Regions from separate parts of the Homo sapiens genome. Here all the other regions are linked to region 1. Evidence: promoter capture Hi-C in 16 types of primary human blood cells and fetal thymus (Javierre and others, 2016). All regions are on one chromosome and are shown on one strand. The core of a region is centred on a gene start or on the middle of the fragment in contact, and the rest is flanking DNA. Distances in the headings are between cores, read along the strand shown.

What was found. Contacts are between HindIII fragments. The CHiCAGO score rates a contact against its expected background, and 5 or more counts as called.
Region 2: a fragment that was not itself captured here is called in contact with the fragment with the promoter of SEMA3D in region 1 in 2 of 17 cell types (total B cells and naive B cells); the score reaches 12.2 in total B cells.
Region 3: a fragment that was not itself captured here is called in contact with the fragment with the promoter of SEMA3D in region 1 in 2 of 17 cell types (total B cells and naive B cells); the score reaches 5.9 in total B cells.
Region 4: a fragment that was not itself captured here is called in contact with the fragment with the promoter of SEMA3D in region 1 in 1 of 17 cell types (total B cells); the score reaches 6.0 in total B cells.
Region 5: a contact is called between a fragment that was not itself captured here and the fragment with the promoter of SEMA3D in region 1, in 2 of 17 cell types (naive B cells and total B cells). The highest score is 8.5, in naive B cells.
Region 6: a fragment that was not itself captured here is called in contact with the fragment with the promoter of SEMA3D in region 1 in 2 of 17 cell types (total B cells and naive B cells); the score reaches 6.3 in total B cells.
Region 7: a contact is called between a fragment that was not itself captured here and the fragment with the promoter of SEMA3D in region 1, in 2 of 17 cell types (total B cells and naive B cells). The highest score is 12.0, in total B cells.

What each region holds. Positions count from the first base shown.
Region 1 is chr7:85,185,731-85,189,089 of GRCh38, reverse strand. It overlaps SEMA3D (semaphorin 3D), which reads left to right and starts at 2,034. Exons shown (of 19, transcript NM_001384900.1): 1 at 2,034-2,412. RefSeq lists a silencer at 2,163-2,222. The HindIII fragment of the contact is 2,551 bases long and covers 1,033-3,359 here.
Region 2 is chr7:85,326,501-85,329,867 of GRCh38, reverse strand. No RefSeq gene overlaps it. Among named protein-coding and RNA genes, the nearest start is that of LINC00972, 93 kb to the left of the region's middle. The HindIII fragment of the contact is 1,365 bases long and covers 1,243-2,607 here.
Region 3 is chr7:85,023,570-85,026,755 of GRCh38, reverse strand. All of the region lies in intron 12 of SEMA3D (semaphorin 3D), which reads left to right. Among named protein-coding and RNA genes, the nearest start is that of SEMA3D, 160 kb to the left of the region's middle. The HindIII fragment of the contact is 9,941 bases long and covers 1-3,186 here.
Region 4 is chr7:85,434,693-85,438,091 of GRCh38, reverse strand. All of the region lies in intron 1 of LINC00972 (long intergenic non-protein coding RNA 972), which reads right to left. Among named protein-coding and RNA genes, the nearest start is that of LINC00972, 15 kb to the right of the region's middle. The HindIII fragment of the contact is 6,012 bases long and covers 1-3,399 here.
Region 5 is chr7:85,366,531-85,369,734 of GRCh38, reverse strand. No RefSeq gene overlaps it. Among named protein-coding and RNA genes, the nearest start is that of LINC00972, 53 kb to the left of the region's middle. The HindIII fragment of the contact is 1,089 bases long and covers 1,344-2,432 here.
Region 6 is chr7:85,346,795-85,349,829 of GRCh38, reverse strand. No RefSeq gene overlaps it. Among named protein-coding and RNA genes, the nearest start is that of LINC00972, 73 kb to the left of the region's middle. The HindIII fragment of the contact is 2,479 bases long and covers 65-2,543 here.
Region 7 is chr7:85,416,780-85,420,057 of GRCh38, reverse strand. No RefSeq gene overlaps it. Among named protein-coding and RNA genes, the nearest start is that of LINC00972, 2.7 kb to the left of the region's middle. The HindIII fragment of the contact is 5,665 bases long and covers 1-3,278 here.

The sequences.
Region 1 (3,359 bases), core at 785-3,284:
CGTTCCAGATGTTGTTTTCTCATGATATGTTCAGGATACTCTGGTAAATTCTGTCTAAATTTGAAGTCTGAGCATCTCAAACTAAATCAGTACAATACAATGTCACAGGCATTGTATTAGAGGCTGAAGAAACAAAGACACAAAACAGCCAACACTTTTGTATGGGATGCAGACACATGCATAACTAATTATAATATAAAGTGAAAAGAGCTTATTATAGTAGTGAAATCAAAGTGCTTTGGGAAAACAGGAGGGAGTGATTAATTCTGTAAGGGCTTTATGGAAAGTATTGAATGGTAGCAAAGGAAGGTGTCATTTGGTTTAAGCATATTAAGCTACAACTTAAAAGAGAAAGGAGGAAAATGGGAAATCCAAAGTTAACCACAATTCTAGTTAAACACAAAATTCTGGCCAATAAACTGACAAAATTATTTAAAAGTTTAAAAATAGAGATTTTCTAAAAATCAAAAACTACTTACTATAAACCCACCATATACGGGAGAAAAAAAGAGATATTTTATTTGCACAATGACATTGCAATTTGCATGGAAGTGCAATGACATATACAAATGAAAATAATATAAACACATAGAAACATACAATAAACAATTGCATGACTATGTACAGAATGAGTGGTATAACATTAAATATAAAGCATTCAGAAAAAAAATAAAAGTTGCTATAGTTTGAAATAGTCTACGAGGATTTAAAATTTTTTTCTCTATCCAAAGAGGGTATTTATGGGGTTGATTGGTTGTGAGTCCAAACCAAGGTTATAGAGATGGGGCAGCATGAGACACAAGAAAGAGCCTTGGTCAGATTTGAGAAACCTGAGCCTTTCCTTAGCCTGACTCTGCCATCAACCATTTATAACTTAAAATGACTCCTTTAGCTTCTGTGGCCCTCAGCCCTCTGCCACAGATAAAAGGTCAAATGAAGAATGTCTTCCACCCCTTTCAGTTATTCCATTACTGCATTTGTCTGTTCACCATCTCCAAATCAAGATATCTCTTGTTACTTGCTAAGGAAGCTTTGGGACCCTACACCTTGTGCTCTTAAATCAAGCTGACAAATGCAGGATCCCGTGGCTGCTTGCTTTCCATGTCTCTACCTCATGTCAGATTTATGTTTGGGACTAAGGGCAAGGTGTGTGACTATAAACCTGGATATCCCATCACAAAGGATTTACCATGCAGCTAAAAATGCCTAACGTACAGGGCTCACCAAATGCACAGGCCTTTTTAATGTCCCTGACGGTGGCCTCATGAACTCTCATTGTCATATATTTTTGCAGAATCTGTAGAAGTGAGATATTTCTGCATTACTTTTGCTTAAAGAGGATCCTCTATTCCAATTGCATAGGATCCAGGTTCATCAAAACTTAGATCTTCTCGTCATTATATACTTCTAAGTTCCTACTGTGTGAATAAGGGGTGCAAAAATCTAAAAAACTCCCGAAGACAAGGATATGAGGCACACCTCTTTGTAGGTCTGGCGTAAGGGAAAGAGGAAGAAAGGATTACATTCTACTCGTTTTTATCTCTCCCTGTTTGGTCTTAATCGGGTGCCAGCCCCTTAACGGAGGGTTGATCCCTGTTCCTCATCCCTATGCCTGCCTTGTCAAGGCCATTAACCGTGGATTGAGGTTTTACATAGTGGAACGCAGGTACTGTTTTGTGGGATTAGCATTTTTAGGACGGTGTTTGTGGTCACTCTCCCTGTTTCTTCCTCATGGGGTCCCTTAACAGGTTTTATGGTATAGAGAAGGAACTAAAGAAGTCCCCAAGTCACCCAGAAGGAAGATCAGACGTTAGAGGTTGCTTTACACATAGGGTGCCCTGTCCTGATAAACATCCGTCAGCGCTTGGCCAGGGCTACCTCTAAATCCACGCTGCTGGCAGCCTCCGCGCAGCAGGGATGAACTTCTGCACGCTTGGGAGTTCTGGCGTGCGCAGTGGAAGGAGGGGGCGAGGGCTGGGGGAGGAGATCGGAAGGGGAAAGGTAATCCCCGGCGTTTTCAGCATCCTCTTTTTAGAAAGACTGAGTCTCTCCCAGGACAGCTGCTGCGGTCACACCACAAACTTAAAAGCCGCCCTCCTGTTTGGAGCGTGCCTTTCCTCGCCACCCTCTCCTCCCCAAAGCTCCAGCTGGTGCCTTGCTCTCCGCCTGTCCTAGCGCGGCTCTCGGGGGAGGCAGCAGCGCCCCCTGCCTCCCGGCCTGGCCCCTGCGGCCGCAGCTTCCCGGCTCTGCCAGGGCTGCCGGCGGCTCCGCTTGCTCAGCCAGGGCTGCGGCTCAGAGGAACGCGCGCCGGTGCCCCGGGTTGCCGCGCCGCTGGACCTCAGCCTGCATCCCGTTCCCCTCTCCCTGAAAAGGCACCAGGAAAAGAGAGAGGGAGAGAAGAGTTCACAGCAGGTAAGTCTGGTTTGGGTCACCTGCTACTCCAGTGGGAGGGTGTGCTGGAGACCGCGGTGCTAAGCGGGGATAGCCGGGATTTGGGGGTGGCTGTGGGTCCGAAGTGGAGGACGAGCATGGTTTGGGAGATAAGGAACCGTCCTGAGACAGAGAAGGCTCCCGGGAGCGGACAGAGAGTGGGCGAAATCGGTGCGCAGTAATCGCGGCGCCAGCTTCAGCGCGGCCCCTGGGGCGCAGTCCCACCCCGCCTCAGCAGCTGCGGAGCCTTCTGACGAGCCTCCGCCTGGCAGCACTGCACAAAGTTTTCCTCCTGAGACGCGTCCAGGAACTTTGCTCTCTCCCTGGCTTCCTGGTTCCCCCACCACCCCTCCTGGTCTGGGCAGCAGAGAGCGTCTATGAATGTGTCCCCGGCTTCCGCAGGCTGCAGGTTCATTTGGAGACGCTTTAGTCGGGAACATCCGGGGAGTACTTGACCAAAGGGCATCTGCGCCCTCGCTCGCTCCTTTCCTTGTTGGTCTGGGAGAAGGGAAAGGGGCAAGGAAGAAGGAAGGGAAGCGTGGTGGTTTTTGTTGTAGCGTTTTGGAAGAGGAATGGGCGACGCCTTTTTCTTCGCCGGGGAATCGCGACGTTCCGTCTGATGGAAGTGTGCATCCTTTTAGATTTAGAGGGAAAGTTGGAGTCAAACAGCAGCCACAAAGCTGGCTGTCTGAAATGTGGTTAAGGCAAAACACTCGGGGGATCTCTTTGTAGTAGTGGGCTTGGCTCGCTTTGGAAAGGCCGGATTTGACTCGTGCTGGGCATTTAACCAGGAGTGCGGTCCCCAGGGTGTTTCCTCCCGGCTTCTGCCCAACGAGCCTGGAGTTAATGCGTTAATGGGCTACCCTGGTAGCGCACGGGCCGTTTTCGGCACTGTTTCTCCTTCTCTGATGACTCGAGTTCAACCTCCT
Region 2 (3,367 bases), core at 676-3,175, 140 kb before region 1:
GGGTGGAGGGATAGCATTGGGAGATATACCTAATGCTAGATGACGAGTTAGTGGGTGCAGTGCACCAGCATGGCACATGTATACATATGTAACTAACCTGCACAATGTGCACATGTACCCTAAAACTTAAAGTATAATTAAAAAAATAAAAAAAATAAAAAATAAAAATAAAAATAAAAAGTTTTATTGGAAAAAAAAAAATCTGACACTAATTATAAGCTGAGTGATGCTGCTAAATCTTTCCTTCCAAAACAATGTTCCATACACAAACATTTGAAAATAAAATCAGGAAGAAATAATCATCCACAATTATTTTTTGCAAGCACTTTTTAAATGAATAACTATCATTAACTATCATAATTAATATGTAAAAAGTTATGCTCTTCATTAATAATTTCTTAAATTTGGGGTAACAATCAAAATATACAATGATAAATAACCCAAAAAAAAAAAAAAAGAGTTTACCTTGCACTCAATTTTTGGACAACTATCACCCTGTTCACATTGGTTCCTTATTTTATAAATATGGAATTAGTATTTTAACTTTTAATGAAGATTATATATTTATCATTTATAGAAATCTAGAAAAGTCATTAACTGTAGGTCTTAATTTCCACATCTGTAAAATAAATATGCTGGACATTTTTCATGATGATGGTGAGATGGAGTCCCCAGCATCTGTGGGAAGTTGGATGAAAGTTGGCATGACAAATTAATTTTATTATGGCAAACATCTCTTGAATTTTTTATAGAGACAACATTCATTGAGACTTAAGCATAGATTTAAAATGAGAAGAATGCAAAATCAACTACACAATTATTATAAAATTCCAAAACTGATTGCTATGATTGCCCTATATCCTCTATCACAGTACATATCTCTTTGACCTACTTCCAGCATTCCTGAGATAATTATTTATGAAACATATGCATGGAATATAAACATTTGAATCAACCACATAAAATCATTCTAGGCAAACAAAGTCATTTTGGATAAAAATAATTTATGTGTGTTTAACCACTGTAGGTGAAATCACGGATGCTGTGCCCATGATCCTTGTAAACAAATAGGAAATACTTGTTTTCACATAGTCCTATCTAAACTCAGACTTCCCCACTTGAACAAGTGATGCAGGCTGGCTGTGTTTATCCTATCACTGTATATAATTTTTTGTATAATTGTCACTTTACATATCGTCATTATTTGTTTACTTTTTAGTCTGACCCACTAAGTGGTAAGCTTCTCAGAACCATATTATTATTTTCCATTATTTATTTAAGGCAGCCATGAAATTACTCCATCCAAGCATATGCCAAAAGAATTTTTTTAGAAGTGTTTTTTATTTGTTGCGCAAATTTTGCTTGTAAGTTAGAAAGTGTTTTAAATAATTACTCTAACAATATATTTTAAAAATATCCTCTTAGTGAGAGTTATTCTGTTAAAAAAAATGCCACAAATAAAACAGTTGAAATTGGTTCCTTTAGTCTTCTTGAACATAAAAAGGAGGTAAGTTCAATCAGATATAAAATGACATTATTTTCTTTTGTGAAAGCTCAGATGTAGTACTTGTTCCAAGTGCCATATGTCATATTGGGAAAAAAATTTGTTAACAAATATGCTGCTCCTTAAGGAAAACACCTGAAATAACATTGCTTTACACTGGCGTAAAGGTAATCCCTCTAATTTTCTTTAGGAACTGATTTTCTATAAATTTAGTAGGAAAAAAATGTTAGGATGATGTTATTGACAGAGTAAGACTTCACATGTCTTCATGTAAAGCCAATGGAGATAAATGGGGTTCAGGCCAGAAGAGTGGTGAATATTAGCAAGTAAAAAAAGCAAAAACTTTACTTTTTTTCACTTTGTAATAAGCCAAATATTTTATCAACTTTTTATAATTTTTAGTAATATGATTTTGATAAGAACTGTGGCAAATATTAGCCATTAAAGTATTATGCTGATTTTTTTCTACATTTATGTTTGTCAATCAAGCTCTGTCTTTTCAATTATGATAAGATTAAGAAGGTTAGAAGTCATAATATATTAAAAGTCTTTCCTGAATTTTAGTTCAATTATCCTTCATTATGAGAGTAACTTCTGAAATATCTTTCAACTTCTGAATTGCCTCAGTTTTGCCAATTGAAAAGGTTAAATGGAATGCGAACTGCTAAAAGAGAATATATTACTGTCTTGCAAAGAATATGAACAGAAAAAAACCTGCAAATAACCATGTTTGATTAATAGATGAATTGATCGATACATTGTTAAGACACTGTTGGTATCTTAACTCAATAAAATGTTGAGATTATTTAGAGTCTGTCATTGAGTCTCATTTTTTTTCACTTTATAAACCCTCACTAAGTTATTTGTACATTCCAATCATTTAAGCTGCTAAATACACATATGAATGACTATACGAATCTCTGATCGTATTAATCCATAATGTTCAACATTTATGAATTACAATACTTGTTGCAATGTCTCCTAGGCACTCAAATCTCAACATGTCTCATGCTGAACTCAAAAATTCTTTCTCTTGAAATCTATTTGTTTTCTTGTATTCACTCATTGTCTGTTTAGATGTCTGTTTTACCAAAGTATAAGCTTGTTGAGTGCAAAATCTGTTATTGTATTTACTTTACCTCTATGTATAGCCAACACCAGAACATTGATAAAATGAATAAACATTGAAATGATAGTCTAGAAACAATCCAATCCTGTAGCCTCAAACTCATCATGGTATTTCCTCATTGCATTGCTTCTGATTCATCAGTTACTTTGAGTGTTTCATTTGTTTTTCTTAATTGTTGTTTTACTGAGCCCGGGTCAAGGAATATTAAGGTGAATTAAAAAGTGACAGTGGTATTATGCGTATTGCTTGGTGAAATAGACTAATTTTGGCATGATCTTTGTCAAACCTGAGGAGATCTGTGGCCTGGAAATCTAAGATTAAAGTCAAACTGTCATGTGGGGATCAAGACAATGATGGGATTGGGGCTTTTCTGGAGCAAAGAGCCCAAATGGTAAAAAACAACAGCCAAATTAAAAAATAATGAGATATAAATTCAGCGTTTACAAATTAATTGCTATGTAAGACAGGGTGAATCATAAAAGTTCTTCCAGAGAGAGGTATTTTCTCTATGAGAAGATGCCTTCATGACATCATGGAATTGTAGGAACTACATCTCTGGATAGAGGACATGTGTGTTTATATCTTAACTATGAGTAGTTTTATCAAGAGACATTACTTAAATAGCTTTTCTCTACTGATACATCTTGTGCTTTATATAAAATATACTTTCCTTAATATGTACATTATTACAGAGAGATGATACTCGGAACATAGGCTTCTGTCATAGGAAGTGC
Region 3 (3,186 bases), core at 70-2,569, 160 kb after region 1:
TCTTAACCTCATACATTAGATTTTAATTGTAAACTATGCTGATCCCATTAAGTAAGAGTTTTAAAAGACATGTTTTATAGTTGACTTTCAAACATAGGTGTAACTGACCAAAGAAAAAAATGTAATTCAAAAATAATATCCAGAACTTTCTATTAATTTGTCTAGTGTTAGACTATGATAGTCTTACCAAAGGAGACTGAAAACTACAGAGTATGATGCAGGAATTCTCTCATAATGTCTCACACTATCTTCCCATTTGTGTACCTGAGGAATGTAGCTAACATCTTATTGCTATTGTTTGTTTCATTTAAGCAAGTCTTTCCTAATTAATTCAAAATCTGTGGAAAACTTTTGGGGATATCTCATTATAGGCATCAGTGGCTCACTCATGTCTCTCTATCATATTGAATTCACAGTTTTATTTTCTCTTTAATATTTGCTCACTCCATCACCTTCCACTTATTGGATAACAATTACTTTATCATCTCTCTAAATTACTGAGGATATCTCTAGTTCTGTTCATTCATTCCTGGTGTTGGTTCTAGAAGGGAGAAGCAGAGGCAGGACTAGACTCTGGATATCCTGAGTCCAGATTCCTAAAACAGATTACACTAAAGGACACGTATCACAAAATATCACTATCATTTCCCTTTAACTGTGTGTAGGCCATGTTTCCCTAAAATGGAGATAGTCAAGGGGCTTCCAAAAGGAATTAACCTTCCCAACTGGCTTTCAGCTTTATTTTCCAGAGGGCAAACAATTTGCTTTTAAAATGAAGTTCTTCAAATCCCAGGCTATTTACTATGTTCAATAGTGTTTTGCTTTTTCTGGCATAGAAATTCCTTTAAGAGAAAGGGAACCTTAAAGAAAAGGAGAGGGAGAGGGAAGGAGAGAAATTACCTCTGTATGTTTGCCCCGGCCTCTTTGTCTCTGATATTTAATACAGGGTCTTTCCTTGCCTTTATCTGTTGTAGGTTGACTCTTCGATGAATAAGCAGGGGTATAAGACGGCAACTGTTACATTTGCATTTTTACTCTATAAATAAAACTCAGGCTTCTGAAAATGAAAGCCTAGTTCAGTCTTTCTTTTGCCATGTCTTCCCTCACATTAGTCATTCCTCTGACTTGTTTCAAAGGAAACTGCAACCTGTAGAGAATAGCCTGAAGCTGCGGGGAGAAAAAACCTTTGACAGCTGTCTGGGGCTTTGCCAAGGGGAAAAGTTCTCTCTTTGGATAAAAACCATTTTTCTCCTCTTATCCATTGCTTCCCATTCCACTACTAAAGGCCCTAGACAAACACGCAGACTTGCCAAGCATAACATGATCACACCTAGCCAGCTATGGCAGCCAGCCATGGGAGATAGGCCCTGAACCAGGGCTGGTTGCTGTTGGGTTTCCACTTTCATCTCAGGGTGTGTCTAGGCAGGTTCTATTTTCTCTTCTTCTTTTGTGCTGGTATTAATATTTCCAGCACAAGAGAAGAATACTGTCTTTGAGTATTTTACAACAGCGGGTAGAGACACAGATAAGTTTCCTGATTTATTTCCTACTCTCCTAGGAGCTAATCTGGCAAATTAAGAAAACTGGAGGCAGAAATAAATGTCCCCGTATGGTATGTTCAGGTGGGCTGTGTTAATACCTAGAAATTAAAAGTACATACATACGGAGAAAAACCCACTAGATTTCTAATACCTGAGATGTATAGCTGCCATAGGAGAATTTTCTAGAATTTGTTAAAGGAAAATAACTGAATATGAATGACCATCCGCTTTAGATGTATCATTTCCCTACACTTTCTCTTTTCTTTTACGAAATTTTTCTTTCCTACTTTACTCTTACCTACATACATTGCTTGGCATCTCATTATTTTTAGATCTGTGTGCAGCACAGCTATATGATATCAACGCAAAAATTCCACTGGTTTGAATGTACTGAAATAACAATATTTGATTCAAACTGTACTATCCTAAACCTCAGAGAGTAACTCTACCAAATCATTTTCATTTGTGCAAGCATAGTGGAGACGCAGACCTGAGATATCATGCATAGCAATTGAGAGGATAAAGATCTTGTCCAAACACTGGCAACATGCCATGAGGAAAAGCTGCCATAAGAAAAAATATATATTTTCAAAGATCATTTTATAGTCAATAGAAACCAGGTTTTCCTTCCTTTTTTTCCGCCTTAGATTTTATTACACTTAAACCATTTTTGTCGGAGCAATGAGGAAAATTCATATTTATTTTTTCTAAGTGTTCATATTTTCATTCAGCTATACTTTCTTGCATTAAAATTTCTAATTATTTAACAATTTGATATCAAAAACTACGGCTTGAATGTCATGATATTATTTCTTTGAAAACTTTGGCTACTGCACAACTACAGCTGCAAAGTCAAAAGTGATTTTTTCTTAAGTTGGAGGGCTTTTTAAAAACTGTGTGCAGGCAAAATCTTGCTCTGGGTTTGATTTTAATGATACACCAACCAGATTGAACCATAGGCATTATAAGCCTACTATGAATTGTCTTTGACTGAGCCTCAAACATGCAGCCTATAATTGGACAAGAGCTTTGTATCATTTGAGCTCCATATCCATTTTGAGTCCCTGCTTAATCTATTTAATGCAAGGTTCTTCCATTATTGAGTTGACGGATTCCGCTTGGCTGAAGGTTAAGTGCTGGAAATAATGACTGAACGTGCAGACTTAGATCTTTAGACCAACATCCAGTTAAGAATATGTTAAGTAAATGCAAAGTGGATAATATTCTAGGACGTTTCTAATCTCTCTGGTACAGACCTGGGACAAATAACTAAATATCCAGAAAGTATCAGTTTCTTAATACCAGACATTGAAAATTTTTGTTAAAGATAAAGATATTCTTAAATTATTTATAGAAAAACATTAACAGACTTTTAGTACAACCTCTTTGATATTTCTTCTAATTCATAATAAGCCATTATGATTTTATTGGTATAAAATTTGGGGTCAAAGTCAAATATTGGGACTAGTTCTAGTATCTTCAGCTCCCTAAGAATGACCCTCTTGAATATTTTGAGAAGTACATTATGTTTTTGGAGCCTTGTCATGATTCTAATTAGTGCCAAGTTTAAATGGTTCAGTTCCATGGAGACTGTTTCCAACTTCTCTAAAAACTGAAACAAAGAAAAGCACCATTAAAAAAATCT
Region 4 (3,399 bases), core at 452-2,951, 250 kb before region 1:
GTCTTATTTGTGCACATCCTTAATCTCATGATTAAAACAACAATGAGAAATTTGAATTCAAAGACATTCTGTCATGCTTTGCTCTGAGACTCCTTTACATGTCTAATTTGCCTTCTGCTGCTGAAAATGAAGTTTGCCAAGAAGGAAAATTTTGGAGACTATAAACAAGGGCAAATATATACAGTGGGGGCAATCAAACAACTGAAAAGCAGGTATGGTTCTAGTCTTTCTTTTGGAGTACATAAAGAAGTACTAAATATCTTTTGTTTTTCTTTTGTTGTGCAATACTTAATAGTTTTGCTCTTTATATTGCACTCATCCTTTATTAAAAAATTGATGTTCGCTGGAAATCATATGTTGCTGTTGAATCACATGAAAAATAATCGATCTGTGTGTATGTGTGCCTTCTATTTAAGAAACAAAAAATATTCCGTTGAAAAGGCTTTCTGATCCTTACCTTCTAACCTTTGAAACAAACCCAGAATTTTCCCCTAGAGTGCTAGGTGATATAAAAAAATTAAAGCATAATTATAGTCTCTGCTGATTTAGGAGTTGCAGTGTAATCTCAATTCTTTAGTAGATCGTTGGGCTCCTTGAAAATGTTTGACTGTAAGAAATTTGTTCAAAGTTACATTAAACTTCTTTGGACTAACTAAAGAGTCCTTGGTTTTATTTCTGAGAGTCAACTCTAGGGAAATTTAAAATGCTTTAAACATATGGTTGAGTTGGTTAGTTATAAAAGCCACTTTTGCATGGGGGTTTTACCCAGTGTCATTCCCTGTGCAATATGGTCCACAGGAGCCATACAATAAATGAATTCTCTGTCTGCTTGTTCTATTTCTTCTTAAATTTTAGTTTCTTTCTGGGAAGAGAAAAACCTGTTCCATATGTCTGGGTAATGCTGCTTTGGAGGCATTCACAGAGAGATAATAGGCACAGTTTCTTTGTATATACACGTAATTCTCAGTAACTTTTAAACATCTGCAAAACACCCCACTCTCACTGTCTCCAGGTCCCACATTAGGTCTTGTTTGTCCATATCTTTAATCTCATGATTAAAAAATAATGTGATTGAAATTTGAATTCAAAGACATTCTTCCCTGAATTGCTTTGTCCTGGTGATGGTGGTGTCTATGTCCTTGCAGTCTCTCTCGGGTACAAAGCACAATAATTAGACACAGGATAGTTCGTCAGCATAGTTACAGTGTGTTGACAAAAATAAGAAACAAATGGAATAGCTTCAGTCTTGTGGAGAATGTGAACATCAATGGAGAAAGAAAACTAACCAATTGATAACTGCATTTGCTAAAAATGATTTGGGACAATTCTTTGTTTTTATTTTTGTGGGTACCTAGCAGGTGTATATATTAATGGAGTACATCAGATATCTTGACACAGGCGTGCAATGCATAATAATCATATGATGGAAAATGGGGTGTCCATCCGCTCAAGGAATTACCCTTCGTATTTCAAACAATGCAGTCATATTCTTAGTTTTTATTAATGTAAAGTTAAATTATTTTTTACTATAGTCACTCTGTTGTGCTATCAAATACTAGATCTTACATGTTCTTTCTATTTTTTGTACCCATTAACCATCCTCACCTTCCCCCCCAACCCCCACACTACCATTCCCAGCCTGTAGTAATGATTCTTCTACTATCTCCATGAGTTAAACTGTTTTGATTTTTAGATCCCACAAATAAGTGAGAACATGTGATGTTTGTCTTTCTGTGCCTGGCTTATTTCCTTTAACATAATGACCTCCAGATCCATCTATGTTGCTGCAAATGAAAGGATATCATTCCTTTTTATGTCGGAATAGTACTGTATTGTGTATAAATACCACATTTTCTTTATTCAGTCATCCGTTGATGATACTTAGGTTGCTTCCAAATCTTCACTATTGTCAACAGTGCTGCAACAAACATGGGAGTGCAGATATCTCTTTGATATAGTGATTTCCTTTATTTTGGGTATACACCCAGCAGTGGGATTGCTGAATTGTATGGTAGCTCTATTTTTAATTTTTGAAGAACCTCCAAACTGTTCTTCACAGTGGTTGTATTAATTTACATTCCCACCAACAGTGTACAAGGGTTCCTTTTTCTCCACATAATTTCCAGCATTCGGTATTGCCTCTTTTGTCTATAATCCATTTTAACTAGAGTGACATGATATTTTATTGTAGCTTGATTCACATTACTCTGAGCACCTTTTCTTACATCTGCTTCCATTTATTTGTATGTCTTCTTTCAGAAATGTCCATTCAAATACTTTGCCCATTTTTTAATTGAATTATTAAATTATTTTCCTATAAAGTTGTTTGAGCTCCTTATATATCTTGGTTATTAATCCTTTGTCAGGTGGTATATTTGTCCATTTTCCCTCTGCTGATAAAGACATACCCAAGACTGGGCAGTTTACAAAAGAAAGAGGCTTAATAGATTTACAGTTCCACATGGCTGGGGAGGCCTCACAATTATGACAGAAGGCAAGGAGGAGCAAGCCACATATTACATGGCAGGCAATGAGAGAGCTTGTGCAGGGAAACTCACATTTTTAAAACCATCAGATCTCATGCAACTTATTCACTATCATAAGAACAGTACAGGAAAGACCCACCCCCATGATTCAATTAACTCCCACTGGGTCTCTACCACAACTATGGGAGCAACAAGATGAGATTTGTGTGGGGACATAGAGCCAAGCCATATCATTCCACCTCTGGCTTCTCCCAAATCTCATGTCTTCACATTTCAAAACCAATCATGCCTTCCTGACAGTCCCCCAAAGTCTCAACTCATTTCAGCATTAACTCAAAAGTCCACAGTCCAACATCTAATCTGAGACAAGGCAAGTCCGTTCCTCCTATAAGCCATAAAATCAAAAGCAAGGTAGTTACTTCCTAGATACAATGAGGGTGCAGGCATTGGGTAAATACAGGCATTCAAAATGGGAGAAATTGGCCAAAACAAAGAGGCTGCAGGCCCAATGCAAGTCCAAAATCCAGTGGGGCAGTCAAATATTAAAGCTCCAAAATGATCTCCTCGCTTACATCCAGGTCACACTGATGCAAGAGGTAGGTTCTCATGGCCTTCAGCAGCTCCACTCCTGTTGCTTTGCAGGAGTGGAGCCTCCCTCCCAGCTGCTTCATGGGCTGGCATTGAGTGTCTGTGGCTTTTCCAGATGCATGGTGCAAGCTGTCAGTGGATCTACTATTCTGGTGCCTGGAGGACAGTGGCCTCTTCTCACAGCTCCACTACATGGTGCCCTAGTAGTGACTCTGTGTGGGGTCTCCGACCCCACATTTCCCTTCTGCACTGCCCTAGCAGAGGTTTTCCATGAGGGCCCTGCCCCTGCAACAAATTTATACCTGGGCATCCAGGCATTTCCATA
Region 5 (3,204 bases), core at 639-3,138, 180 kb before region 1:
TCTCTTCAAATCTCATGTTGAAATGTAATCCCCAATGTTGGAGGTGAGGCCTGCTATGAGGTGTTTGGGACATGGGGGTAGATTCCTCATTAATGGCTTGTTGCTATCTCTGTAATAATGAATGAGTTCTCACTCTATGAGTTTACATGAGATCTGGTTGTTTAAAAGAATCTGGTACTTCCACCTCCCTGTCTTGCTCCTGCTCTCACCGTGTATATGCCAGCACCCCCTTTGCCTTCTGCCATGACTGTAAGCTTCCTGAGTCCTCACCAGAAATTCAGAAGATGATGGCACCTTGCTTTTACAGCCTGCAGAACCACGAGCCAAATATATATATTTGTTTATAAATTACCCAGTCTTAGACATTCCTTTATAGTGATGCAAAATAGACTAACATAGTCCTCTTCTCAATCTGTGATTAATCCTTTGGTGAATTTATGTAGCCTTGCAGTTTACAATATTTGAGTAGCTGTCTTTTATACCAATATCCTATCCATCTGAAAATATTCTGGACTTTACCTTTAAAGTATATTCAAAAAAGCAGAGAAGGAAGGTGTCCAACTAGATGCAGCTGGGGGAACATCTGCCACTGACGGAATGGGACACAAGGAAGACTGACAAACTCTGAGCACATCTTTGGAAGGAAGACATTGAGAGTGGATGGAAGGAGGAAACAGATTCTGGTCTGAAAGAGGAAGAAGCTGGGATCCCTGCATGGGGCTGTGTCACACTGGAATACATTCTTGGCCTCCGGTAACTCCTGGGGAAGGGGTGAGTTGAGCAGGCAAGGATTGGCCTGCTCTCACCATGGATCCCTGGAATCCTGCAGCAGGAGACCTCACAGTCACCATGGACATAATTATTTTAAAGTTCAGGAAACTTCAATAAAATAGAGGGAAACAATTCAATGAAATCAAGAAAGTACTAAAATATGAAACTTGGAAATTTAACAGATAAATTAAATTAAAATAAAACTCCAAAAACAATTCTAGAGCTGAAAAAAACTCCACAATTAAAATTAAAAATGCAGGAGAATATCAACATCAAAATTGATCAAGCAGAAGGAAAGACCTGTGAACTTGAAAACAGGTTATTTAAAAATACAGTCAGAGGACAAAAGATAAAAAAGAATAAAAGGGACTAAAGAAAGCTTACTGGATTTATAAGACAGCATTAAAAGAGCAAATATTCAAGTTATCATTGTTTATACGAAGAAACAAATGCTTGAGTTATAGGGTTGTGTGAAGAAGAGAAACAAATTATTAGAAAGGTTATTTAAAGAAATAACAGCAGAAACCTTTCCAAATTTGGAGAAAGATATACATATCCAAATACAAAAAGCTTAAAAGTCTGAAATCAGATTCAATTGGAACAAGATTACGCCAAGATATAACAAAACTGTCAAAAATTAAAGACAAACAAAGGATCTTGAAAACATTCAGAGAAAAGAAGCAAATTAAATATAAGGGAGTTCTAATAAGACTAGCAGCAGATTTCTCAGAAGCAATTTTTACAGGCAAAAAGAAAATGGGATAATATATTGAAAGTGCTAAAGAGAAAAAAATAACTGTTAACTAAGAATATTGTATCTACAAACTCTTCTTCAGAAATTAAGAAGCGATAAGACATTTCCCAGACAAAAACTGAGGGATTTCATTATTAGCATATTACAAAAAAATGAGAAAGGAAGTTCTTCAAACTGAAAGAGAAGATGCTAAATAGTAACACAAAAACATGAAAGTATGAAACTCACTGGAAAAAGTAATCACACACTCTAATACTGTAATGATATTACATAAATCACGTATCTCTTTAGTATGAAGGTTAAAAGATAAAATTATTAAAAATAATAGGTACAATAATTTGGCAAGTGACATACAATATAGAAACATTTAAGTTGTGAAATCAAAAAGTTAAAATATCAGAACTGATGCTGGAGTAAAAATGTAGTTTTTAAATGAAATCAGTATAAATTCAGTTTAACATAGCTTTTTATAACTATTAGTTGTTTTTTGTAAGCCTCATCATAACCACAAAGCATAAACCTATAGTAAATACACAAAAGATAAAAATAAAGGAATCAAAACATTTCACTAGAGAAAATTACTTAGCCACATAGTAAGACAACAAAAGAGAAAGACTGAAACAAAGGATGTACAAAAAAGCCAGGAAACAATTTTTTTAAATGGCAGTAGTAATTACTTACCTACCAATAATCACCTTATTTGTAAATGGATTAAATTATTCAATCTAAAGGCATAGAGTGCTGACTAGATGGAAAAACAAGACCCAACTTTATGCTGTCTACAGGAGACTTGTTTTACCTGTAAGGACACACATACACTAAAAATCAAGGGATGAAAAAAAGATATTCTAAGCAAATGGAAACCAAAAGAGAGCAGTAACTACACTTCTATGAGATAAAATAAGCTTTAGGTCCAGCTAAATATACTGAAAAAGGGGTCTATTCTGGAAGAAGATACAACAATTATAAATATACACCCAACATTGGAGCACCTAAATATATAAAGCAAATACTAATAAAAGGAGAATTGGACTGTAATGCAATAATAGTAAATGACTTCAAGGCTTTACTCTTAACAATGAAGAGATTCTCCAGGGAGAAAATCGTTATAAAAACATCAAATGTGAGCTACACTTTAGACCAAATGAATCTAACAGACATATACAGAGCTGTCCATCCAGCTACAGAATACATATTCCTCTCAACTGCAGGTGAACTGTTCTCCAGGATAGATGATATGCTAGTCCACAAAACAAATCTTAAAAAAAATTAAGAAGATTGAAATTATATCAAGTATCTTTTCTGACCACAAAGGTGTAAAACTAGAAATCAATAATGGAAGCAATTTCAGAAAGTTAAAAAGTACTTGGAAGTTAAACAACATGTTTCTGGAAAAACAATGAGTCAAAGAAGCAATTAAAAAATTAATATATATATTGAGACAAATGACAATGGAAACACAATATACCACAACTTATGAGATGCAGCAAGGGCAGTTCTAACAAAAAAATTTATAGTAATAAATACTTATATCCCAAAAGAAGAAAGACTCCAAATAAACAATCTTTAGTACACTTAAAGTAGAAAAACAAGAATATACTAAGCTCAAAATTAGTAAAGAAAATAATAAAGATCATGACAGAAATAAATAAGAGAGAAAAAATAATATAAAGGATCAA
Region 6 (3,035 bases), core at 55-2,554, 160 kb before region 1:
ATTTACTTTGAAGAAAAATATTGTTTGTGGCTTAAGACATTTCAGCTAGACTATTTTTGAAGCTTACAAAATAGTGCTATAAATGCATCTCAAATTCATTTTGAGTCCTGAAGGAGTTACCAAAATGATGATTTCATACAGAAATAAATATGCATGGCAAGTTACACATGCATGTATGGCAGAAACATACATTTCCACATTGTGAAGCAATGAAAAACCTCACAAAGGTTATATAAATTTAAACCAATAAAACTATTTGCAGCACCTCTTTCTTTGTCTTCTAAACTCATTCCAGCTTTGGCTCCTTCTTTGTCTTTGTTCAGCCTCTCTCTTCCCTACAAATATGCATATAAAAACATTTTGGAAAGCAGATGCTAATAAACACACAAGTCTTAATATCATCACACATGCCATACCTTGTCCATGCGAGGAACTTCCACTATAACCTGGAACCATTCCTTCAGCATTAAAACATAGCTCAGGATTTATCTCTTCAAAGAAACTTTGACAGAATAACCAAAGTAATTTAATTCACTCCAGCAAGATTATCTTGCTAGAATCCAACACAGTTATATTTATATTTTGAACCTAACGAAAATATTTTATCAATATCCTTAAGCAAAAATCACTTATTAAATAAAGACTTAAAAATAGGCTTATTACTTTTATACATGAATGCGCCTTATATTAACCCTTGTTTTCAAAGCCCCAAACCCAGCTTCACTCTCCATTTGCTCAATTGTATATGGCCCATATGAAATTCCAAACTCACTCGCCCTCCCCCATGGTGATATAAGCACTGGTCCAGTAAAGATTCCTGAATAATAAAGTGTCAGTGATTGCTACTCTTCCCACTGTAGCATGGAGCCTTGATCCAAATATTTAAGTCATATTCTTCTAGAAAGTGTCAAATACTGGAGATACCACATACACATCTTAAATATAACGGGCAAGATGCAGGAATGAGACTAAGATCCACAGAACATAAGATTCATATTAGTTAGGAATAGAATCAAGTAGTTATGGAAACATGAAGAGTAAAACCTCTGACCGATTGCCAGAAATTCTGTATATTTGCACTTTGGTCTTATAGATTGGACATGGGACTAGAGACTTGATTATGGAATCAAAGACATGAGAGACTCAGAGTTTTTGAAAACTAAACACTACCAACATTTTATGATCTTCTCATAGTTTCTGTAATGAACATTACTCTACTAAGTTAACTAATATTTTGTCTAGAAATTTTGTATTTCAGTACTTAGTTCAATAAAAGCACTAAACATATGGTGCAATACATGTAGAATGTGATACAATATGAAACATCATTAGAAAGAGATTGATGTATGTATGCTGAAGTGGAAATTTTCATGAGAGGTTGAGTAAAAAATATGATGTTCAAGATATCATATATAAGATTATATGTTTATTAAATATAATATATAGAGGAAATAAATATTAAAAAGATATTCACAAAATTGTTAACATTGGGTACCTTTAATAGCATTAGTTTGAGTCACTAAGAATGGGTTTTTTTTACTTCATACATATTTTATTTCTTATATTTTTATTGTATAAATCACTTTTTAATAATATACTAACTTAAAAAATATAATAAATCAAAATATATTACTTAATAAATTATTTGATATTAATAAAATAGGAAACTTCCATATGCAGTTGCTATCAATATATCTTAAAACTTCATCTTCAGATATAAAATATCTTACTTTTAAAAATTATATAGATTACTATTATTTATAAGTTCAGTCTGGATTGTTCTTCCCTCAGTTTTTCAGTTTGAATTTACATAATATTCTCATGATCACATGTAAAATTTTCATGTGCCCTTAGCAACATATGTCCTTAGGGATAAGGGTGGAAAAACCCTGCAACTACTATTTGTCAAAATTCTCCTGTACGCTCCATGTTACAGCTTTATGAATTAGCTGCCTATCTCTGTCTGTCTTTTTCTCTCTCCCTAGCTCTGTTTCTCCCTCTGATTTTCACAGATGCCCATAAAACACACTTACATACCAAATTTTCCTCCAAGAACATACACACTATGCCAAAGGGACAGTTGAGAAGGAATTCAGTTGTCTGACAACAGCCCATCCCCAAAATAATTCTGGTCTTGGCACTGGTCCTGGCTCACTAGTTAAAATATCTTGCTTCTAAATATCTGGGCATTTTTTCTGCCATTTGATCTAATTTGGGGCCTCCAAAATTTATCTGAATTGTCTAATATTAAGTATCAAAAAGAATATAACCTAGTTCTTGATCCAGTTTCCCAAGAAAAGGCTTATTGTCTGCAATGCAAATTTGCTATTATTCAACCAACAACTTTGAAACTGTAAATTTAAAGAGTGCTGCATTTATCCATGTGTAAAAAAAATCACGTTAGAGACTTGCCCCCCCCATCCACCATCGATAAATAGAGACCTTCTTAATTTATATTTCACCTGTTTCAGTACAGGTGACAGAAACCAGGCCTGGCTAATTTACACACACAAAAAGAACTTACTAACAGCTAGATTTAAGCTTAAGAAGCAATGGGTAATATCTACATTAAGATAATTTTCAAATACTAATGAGAGCTAAAAAGGAAAACTTTCCTTTGTGTGGATCGGAAGACTCAGACCCAGTATTATACCAATTCTCTTGAATTTAATCTAAAAATTCAATGCAATTTTTATAATTTATCAGTAAGAGTTCTCCTTAACTAAATTAGCAGATTATAAAGTTCACATGAAAAATAAATGAACAGGCAAAAATACTTCTTTAGAAATTCTGCTTCCCAAAATGGAAAAATGCATTGACATGGGACTAACACTACCAGATATTAAAACATATTATGAAGCTATAGTCTTTAAAACACTGTCTCTTCATTAAATGCCATTTCATTTTCTATCCTTGAGACTTTCTACCCTTGAGACTCTTCAATCAAGTAACATTCTTCCAGGTGAATTTCAAACGCTAACCCACTGACATGTCTTAAAACTAAAACTACATTCAAAGTCCTCAAAGCAGAATCA
Region 7 (3,278 bases), core at 455-2,954, 230 kb before region 1:
TGATTAATTTTTAAATGAAGACATCATAAGCTGTTGTGAATTATGCAGTCTTATTACTTTTTTTCTCGATTTCCTTTTAAAATTAACTATTTGATTTTCTAATAATGACTTTGGTAAACACAGAATTTTTAGAAGTGTAACTATCAAGACTGGTAAGAGATTACTAAATATATTTGTAAGAAACTTGGCAAGCCAATAACATTTATGGCCTTCAATTTATTAATATAAGAAATCACAAATCTTAGCAATCTCTAAATTCTCTTCTAGCTCTAAAATTCTATGACTTTTTGCTAACCAAATAATCTTATTTTCATACGTCTTTCTTAATTAATCTTGAGCTAGCACATGCAAGCTGCTGGATTTAACTTAGAAATTAAGACTGTAGTGAAATGATTCACAATCTCTAAGTCACTGTAGATATGTTCATATGTCATTTAACATAAAACTATTTTTTACATTAATATAAAATACTCATTGTATTTATTTTACTACTAAATATGCAACTGGAGAAATGTCTGAAATGGCACACCTGTTCTCAATTCAGCAAAAAAGGTAAAATCAGAAACAACACACCTGTTACATGGTGTAAGAAAACTGCTGTGCTGAAATTCCTTCTCCGGGGGGGAGGGGGGGGAAGAGACGTGGTACATTTTATTTAATCAAAAATATTCATTGATTACTAAATCTGTACAAAATATTTTGCTGAGTGCCACAGGAAGCAGTACACAGCCTAGCCTTCAACTGACTTTAAAATTGATAGAATTGGCCGGGCTCAGTGGCTCATGCCTGTAATCCCAGCACTTTAGGTGGCCAAGGCGGGCGGATCACAAGGTCAGGAGGTCGAGACCATCCTGGCTAACATGGTGAAACCCCGTCTCTACTAAAAATACAAAAAATTAGCCAGGCATGGTGGCATGCGCCTGTTGTCTCAGCTACTTGGCAGGCTGAGACAGGAGACTCGCTTGAACCTGGGAGGCAGAGGGTGCAGTGAGCCGACGTCATGCCACTGCACTCCAGCTTGGGCGATAGAGTGAGACTCCATTTCAAAAAAAAAAAAAAAGAAAAAGAAAGAAAGAAACAACAATGATAGACTGGATTAAGAAAATGTAGCACATATACACCATGGAATACTATGCAGCCATAAAAAATGATGAGTTCACGTCCTTTGTAGGGACATGGATGAAATTGGAAATCATCATTCTCAGTAAACTATCGCAAGAACAAAAAACCAAACACCGCATATTCTCACTCATAGGTGGGAACTGAACAATGAGATCACATGGACACAGGAAGGGGAATATCACACTCTGGGGACTGTTGTGGGGTGGGGGGAGGGGGGAGGGATAGCATTGGGAGATATACCTAATGCTAGATGACGAGTTAGTGGGTGCAGCGCACCAGCACGGCACATGTATACATATGTAACTAACCTGCACAATGTGCACATGTACCCTAAAACTTAAAGTATAATTAAAAAAAAAAAAAAGAACCATCAAAAAAAAAAAAAAAGAAAGATAGATAGAATAAGCCAAGCATTTATCAGTTTCTTCTTCATCCATTTATTTATTCAAGATTTATTGATTTATTATTTACTATTGCCCATTGAGCTTGCAATCTAGGGCTAGCAGGCAAAGAACAGACCACAGATTATTAACCTAATATGAAAAATGCCAGGCAGATAATCCAAACTCAGATTGATTTCTCTACATGGTCAGTTCAAACAAAGCTCAACAAAAAGAGGTATCGTTTACCCTTGGACTGAATGCCAAAAGAAAAACAGTTTTTTGAAAAACAAGAAGGATGCTTTTGAGATATACCAAAATCTCTTGCAAAGAACCTGAAATTTTAGAAGGCTTTACCTGTCTGAGGAACAGTTAGATGATCAGTGTTCTTGTGATATGAGTTGACACTGAGAAGGTAGGCTGGGGACAGATCTGGTAGAGATTTCCACACATAAAATATCTGGATTGTATTTTAAACACTGAGAAAAACCACTGGAGATATTTAAGTAGGTGATTGTCATGACTTTTTTTCTTTTTAAAATATCACTCAGACTTTCCTGTGGAGAATGGATTGACAGTAAACATATCTGTTTGGTGGTTTCTTTGGTAAACTAGAAAAAAATAATGACACGTAATGGAATTAGGGTGGCGAAACTAGGGTGAAATTATGATGGCTTTGGAGATTGTTAAAGGAGCTGAAGTATAATAAACAGATTCAGGGATATATTTTGTGGGTGAGTTTGATGATACTTGTTTGGATTTTGAGGTTAGTTTGCTGAAGCTGAGAGGAGATAAGAAAAAAAAGACGATCTCTTGTACTTTGGCTTTAGCAAATATATAGACGATGATGCTTTTTACTGAAATAAGGAAGAGTCAGGGAGACCATGTTTGGGGTTTCAGTTTTGACCATATTAACTTAGAGATATCCTTCATATATTCATGTGGGGTTACTGAGAGGGTAGATACACAATTTGATAGTTAAGAGAAATTAGCCTAAGGTTCACTAATTAGTTACATTCATTTAAATATGCCAAGCATTATGTTAAAATAATAATTACATTATATATAGTTTAAATACAGCTATGTTTACTATGTTTTTCTAACTCCTTTTTTAAAATTTGTATTTATTTTTAAGTTAAAAGATAAAATAGGGCCAGGTGTTGTGGTATGTGCCTGTAGGTCCAGCTACTAGGGAGGCTGAGGCAGGAGGATAGCTTGAGCTCAACAGTGTGAGTCCATTCCAGGCAACATAGTGAGACCCCATCTGTTTAAAAAAGAAAAAGAAAAAAGGATAAAATTGTATATATTCATCATGTAGAACACAATGTATTGAAATATATATATATATACTTCATATATATATACTTCAATTCATATATATATATATATAGAGAGAGAGAGAGAGAGAGAGAGAGGAATGACTGGATCAGGCTAATTGACACATGCATTACTCCATATAGTTATCACTGTTATGGTGAGACTACTATAAATCCAGTCACTCCTTTGTAACTGACTTTCTAGCCCTTTTCATAAAAAGGAAGGGGTCAGGTATTTCATTGTGATGGTGAGAACATTGTATATTGAGTCACTCCTTCCAGTCTGGGCAACATAGAAAGACTCCCATCTCAAATCATAATAATAAGAAGAAATAAGAAATAAGAAGCAATAGATAAAACTGAGCTCTGATACACTCGGAGTAAAAATTGATGAGTGTATGAAACCCTCTATTTTATCTTATATATATATATTTCTGGGAACATTTTTACACATGTAGGA